Linked DNA regions of Homo sapiens: region 2 is linked to region 1. The links are contacts of gene promoters, found by promoter capture Hi-C in blood cells and fetal thymus (Javierre and others, 2016). All regions are on one chromosome and are shown on one strand. The core of a region is centred on a gene start or on the middle of the fragment in contact, and the rest is flanking DNA. Distances in the headings are between cores, read along the strand shown.

Region 1 (2,908 bases), core at 376-2,875:
CAATAGCAGAGTCTAAAGTTAAATTCAGATATCTCTACTAGCTCTCTCCTGGCTGCAGTTCTGCTACCAACCCTTGGAAATGTGCTAAACATTCTTGTTTCTTCTGTAATAGCCCAAAGAACAGTACAACATGGTGATTAAGTATCCCTTTTCCAAATTTATATTTAATGGAAAACCCAGAAATGATGATAATAATAGGGGAAATGTTCTCAGACCTGAAATGGTACTACAGTAGCTATTATTAATTTCTATTCATTGTATATTAACAATCTGAGACTTATTGTCCAACCTAACTGAAAATGCAGGATTCAATACGATATTGAAGAATAATATTTTTGCTATGGCAAGGAAGAATAAGGTTTGTGAGAAGAGACAGAATGGCATGTCATGGAACTTTGAAGTCTTCAAAAATAAGATTTGTTTTTCATCATACTTTCTGAATCAACATTATTTTAAAATGAATATACCCTCAACCTTTCCTACTCACACAGCCCTACACAGTCTATACTATCAGTAGGGAGAGCTAGAGTGCTGAGCTAGCTGTTACATGTGTTTTTTGTTTCCATTTGCTGAGTAAGGGGGAAAATCAAACAATCAACATATCAAGATAAGTGAAATACCTGCTGTGTTTATTGAAGGGTGTGGCTGGTAATGACTAATGCAACCATTTTCTACTTGAACAGATTCGGGTTCAAAATGATACTTCAGTTATTTCTAAAATGAAAAGAATGATCGCAGTTCTATTACTACTTCCAGTTATTAAATCATTATCAATATCAACTATTTCCTTTCCCTTCCCCTGTTTCCATTTAAACCTCCAGCACTATGTGGGAGAATGCAGCCATCTGGTCATGAGGCTAAGCTGAGAAGAATGCTGCCCTAAAGCATCCTGGGAAATGCTGGACCAGAAGTACTTCTGTTAGATACTTCTTTGCTAAATCACGCATCTTGCAAAATTGACCATTAAGAGATACAACTATTGTATGTCCCAAATACTCTGGTTAAAAATGTAGGGTGATCTTCCTTTTAGGCCCTATGTAATATCTTCCGACTTTATGGATACTTAGACATATAATTTATTCGAATGACAGCCTGCTTACTTGATACCATTGACAGAAAATAGTTATAAATAAATGTCTAAAGCTAGTGTGACTCTATCCAAAGATTCTGTATAATCCCGTTTAGAGTAATGAGGACTATAACGACAATCTTAAGTACACTATTTTTTTAAAAGAAATCTGATACATCTGACTCTTATGCATGGGATTGATGATATTCTTCCTCCAATGGATTATGAAGCAGAAAGTCTAGGTAAGAATAAAAGCAGTCCCTTAGTTACTGGAGTAGCTTAGACCTCTCACAGGTTATATTTGTAGTTCACATCAAGCCTGAGCAAGTATTTGGACTAATTTTACATGTTGAAACCAAAGGGGAAGCTTAGCAAGTACACCGTTTCTTGCTTTGAAAGAGTCAGTCTAAGATATACGTATATCATTTTGTTCACACACTGAACTCCCCTCCCTTTTTTTCCTGCTTCTCTCCTGCTTGGAGCTGACTCCTCCTTCCTGCAGCTCCGAGGATCACAGGCTGATTGAAGAACACAGCGGTTCAGATGGGATTCTGTGCACAAGCTCCCTCTGACTGGCTCGCGCTCGCCCTCTCTCTCTCTCTCTCTGTCTCTCTCTCTCTCTCCACCTTCAAAGCTGAAACCTACCTGACAATCTCCTGCCTTTGAATCCAGCTCTGGAACCAAATGCATCATTTTACTGCTCTTAAAAGTGAACAGAGTTTGATTATCTCAAGCTACAAGCTGCTTTGCTCCATAAGAAGGACCCCAAAGGATCCAGACATCATTGGTTTTTAATGTACCTGAAGAGTTTTGTTTTGTTTATTTTTTTGGCTTTCTTCCCTGAAACTTGATGGTGGGAAGGAGTTTTTGCTTTGTTTTTAATTGGAATGTTGAAAAGTTATCTGTTCGGGTTTTTTTTTTTTTATGCTTGAAATGGAACCTAATTTTTAAATATAGCTTGAGTCAGATCTAAAGGAGACATGGCTGACCATTTTCTGCAGGACTGACAAGGAGAACATCTAGAGGGGAACTTGGTAGGAGGAATGAAATCTGATTTGCAGCAGCCGGTCTTTCTTTTGAGAAAATTATCAGACTCATTGATAAGGGAAATTAAATATTGACCAAGGACAATGTCTTTATTTCTCAGTAACTTATCAACAAATGACTCTAGCCTGTGGAAAGAGAATCATAATTCTACGGACCTTTTAAATCCGCCAGGAACCCTGAATATCTATCTTTTTTGCTTGACATGTCTCATGACTTTTGCAGCCTTGGTGGGCAGCATTTATTCACTAATTTCCCTGCTGAAAATGCAGAACAGAACTGTTGTGTCCATGCTTGTGGCTTCCTGGTCTGTGGATGATCTCATGAGCGTCCTGTCGGTGACCATCTTCATGTTTTTGCAGTGGCCAAACGAGGTCCCCGGTTACTTCCAATTTCTGTGCACCACCTCTGCCTTAATGTATTTATGCCAGGGCCTCTCTAGCAACTTGAAGGCGACTCTCCTAGTCTCTTACAACTTTTATACGATGCACAGAGGTGTGGGGAGCCAGACAGCCTCCAGAAGATCGGGCCAGGTGCTCGGCGTGGTGCTGACCGTGTGGGCAGCCAGTCTGCTGCTCTCGGCGCTCCCGCTGTGCGGCTGGGGCGCCTTCGTGCGCACGCCCTGGGGCTGCCTGGTGGACTGCTCCAGCTCCTACGTACTATTCCTCTCTATCGTGTACGCTTTGGCCTTCGGACTCCTCGTGGGCCTCTCAGTCCCACTCACTCACCGATTGCTGTGTTCGGAGGAGCCGCCGAGACTCCACTCCAACTACCAGGAAATTTCCCGTGGAGCTT
Region 2 (2,958 bases), core at 72-2,571, 1.2 Mb before region 1:
ACCACACATATTTAAACAACCAGATCTCGTGAGAACTCACTCACTATCCTGAGAACAGCAGGGGGGGATATCCACCCCCATGACTCAGTCACCTCCCACCAGGCCCCTCCTCCAACACTAGGGATTATAATTTGACATGAGATTTAGTCAGGGACACAAATGCAAACCATATCAAGGTTCTATTTCCAGTTCCCGGGAAAGTGAATCTGATGGGCTAGAGTAAGATAGGCTCTCCTGAGCCTGGGAGATGGCCACAGGCATAGTACTGGCTGTGAAAGCAGACTGCCAGAAGAAAACACAGTCAACCTTTTGTTGCTCCCCTTAGCCCACTCCTTCCCTTTTCATTTTCCAATGACTATAACATCAGATGTCTTCATATAGGCTTGGAGTTTGGTCTTTGGTACCGAGGACTGTGATTGCCATATACATTGCTTATTTATTTATTTTTTGAGACAGGGTTTTGCTCTGTAGCCCAGCCTGGAATGCAGTTACATGAACGTGCCCCACTGCAGCCTTAACCTCCTGGGCTCAAGTGATCCTCCTGCCTAAGCCTCCTCTGCAGCTGGGACCATAGGCTTGCACCACCACTCCAGGCTAAGTATTTTTTATTTTTTGTGGAGACAAGGTTTCACCATTTTTCCCAGGCTGGTCTCGAACTCCTGGGCTCAAGTGATCTTCCCGCGTTGGCCTCCCAAAGTGCTGACATTACCGGTGTGAGCACCACCCCTGGCCCCTGGTTTATTTATGGGAAGCTTAAGGCAGCCAAGAACCTATCTTTCCAACAAGGTGGTATATCTTGTCAATTTTTTTCATTTACTCATTTATTTAACCGATATTTACTAGTTATCTACACTGTTTAAGGTGCTGTAATATAGAGATGCATGGAATATAATATAATTATATATAGTATAAAGTCCAGTTTACTTTTTGGGGGAAACTGTTATATATTTAAGCTACATTTGCTTGCTTGTCCAGGGTTATAATCCTTTATTCATTAATATTTTCCCCCAGATCTTGTTCCAATATTATGGCAGGCAGTCAAACCCTTTAATCATTTGCCTGTAAAGATGTCTCTGATTTATTCAGAAGGTTTACTCATTCTAGTTAGGAGTAACTAGGAGAATAGACATGTTAGAAAAATAGAAATCTAACAGCAATGTTGCATGACATTATGAGTTTGACATTAATTAAATAACAAGAGAGTTTGTATTATCTGGGAAGCTGGAGGCTCTAAGATTATAAACATGGCAGCTTGCCCAAATCATTTCTAGAGTTGGAAGTAGCTTGAAGTTCAAGACTTCACAAATAAACATTCACATGCAAAGAGAAAAATCAGAAAAATCATAGCCTAAATCCAAAATGAAGTCACAGCTGGCTGCTTTGGAAAAAAGAAGGATGAGCTTTGTTGGCAAAGTCAGCTCTTCTGCATGTTTAAAGTCTATGTAGCAGAGTCTAAAAGAAAGCAAACCAAATTTCGATTCTCTCTTATAGCAGGCTTAAATTTAGCTCTTTGTGGAAACTGGTGGGGAACATGTACATGGTTAAAGGTATATGGTGTTATGTTTTTAAAGTTCAATGATGATAACTGTTGAAGGGGTTATATCACTAGAGTATTTATTGGGGTGATAGTGGGTAGTAGAATAGTGGGAGACCCCTCCAAAGAGACCATTAGGTAAACCAATTTGTTGAATATTTGAAATCATATTCTCTTGTAGTGAGGAAGAAAGCATACTTGAACTTGCATTCTTACAACTGAACACTTAAAAACATCATTTGGAAAGCTGTGCCATGATAACCATTGTGAAATAAATAAGGGGAAGAAAGCATAATCCACCAACAAATGCCATCAGTAGATGTGCCAAAGCTGAGTGATGTTTATCATCAAGCTTTGATTTGACGGTAAACATGTGCAGATCGTGTGCAAACTGTCTTCCTAACTGTTGAACCCCTTGCTTCCTTTGTGCACTGGCTAGTGCACCCAGGGATGTCAGGTGACTTTTTCATAAGAAGATGGTAGGTTAATTCCATAAAAGCGCAATTCAAGAGCCCACTTTGAATACATTTTGAGGTGGAATGTTGTCTTTGCAGTTGGTGATTTGAAAGGTTACTTTAAATCCACTGAGTAAACATACTAAAGTAGGTGAGAGGTTCTTTCTTGGGTTTTGGGAAAGTGTTATTGATGTATGATAATTGTGGCTAAGGTCATTTCCTAATCTTCAATATTAACTACAAGTTTGTCCTGTCCTCTGTAGAGAAGTATAAGAATTAATTTGCTGTCTGAGGAAATAAAAATGATAAGGGACTACTCACAAAACGCATTTTCCATAGCAAAAGGGCAAAAGTGCTAATTGAATGTAGGTAATATTTTCCCACTTCGAGGAAAAAATAATATGAACTTTGAATCGATTCCTTATCTACAGATATGGATCCTTATCTACATGGCATTTTATTTTGCTCATCCTTAGGACTTTTCTCATCTTTTATTAGGACAGGACCTACCATGTTTTTCTAATAATGCTGGCCTGGCCAAAGTCATATAGAACTTTCGAATTCCTTTTTACTTGATGTTGTGCCCAGGGGCTGGCCAAAGTTAAGGGTTTAGCCTCTTCTGGCACTGAGTAGTCCACAGGGAAATGGACCTCTGACTGAGGGCTCATTAATTTATCCTAGTCAGTTTTATTTTTTAATATAATTTCTGCATCCAGGTATAGTTTACAATGTTCAGACTGTATCTTTAGCTGTCAAAGGCTTACGGTCCAATCAGTTTGGGGGGAAAAGCTGCTGAGCTTTAAGCTGTTCTAAAAGTATATAATTTACACAAAAATTAGAGAAGTTGGATAGGGTGATCTATCTCTAGTGAATGACTGTTTTGTTGTTGTTCCAATTTCCAGTCCATTACAGACTGATAATTTTGTGGACTACAGTAAAAATCAATTACTAAAAGTAAAAAACCGAGAC

Evidence for each region. Contacts are between HindIII fragments. The CHiCAGO score rates a contact against its expected background, and 5 or more counts as called.
Region 2: a contact is called between a fragment that was not itself captured here and the fragment with the promoter of GPR149 in region 1, in 1 of 17 cell types (M1 macrophages). The highest score is 5.1, in M1 macrophages.

The regions. Positions count from the first base shown.
Region 1 is chr3:154,428,907-154,431,814 of GRCh38, reverse strand. GPR149 (G protein-coupled receptor 149) reads left to right here and starts at 1,625. Exons shown (of 4, transcript NM_001038705.3): 1 at 1,625-2,908. The coding sequence starts at 2,200. The HindIII fragment of the contact is 3,253 bases long and covers 1,439-2,908 here.
Region 2 is chr3:155,636,952-155,639,909 of GRCh38, reverse strand. All of the region lies in intron 2 of PLCH1 (phospholipase C eta 1), which reads left to right. Among named protein-coding and RNA genes, the nearest start is that of PLCH1, 110 kb to the left of the region's middle. The HindIII fragment of the contact is 1,134 bases long and covers 755-1,888 here.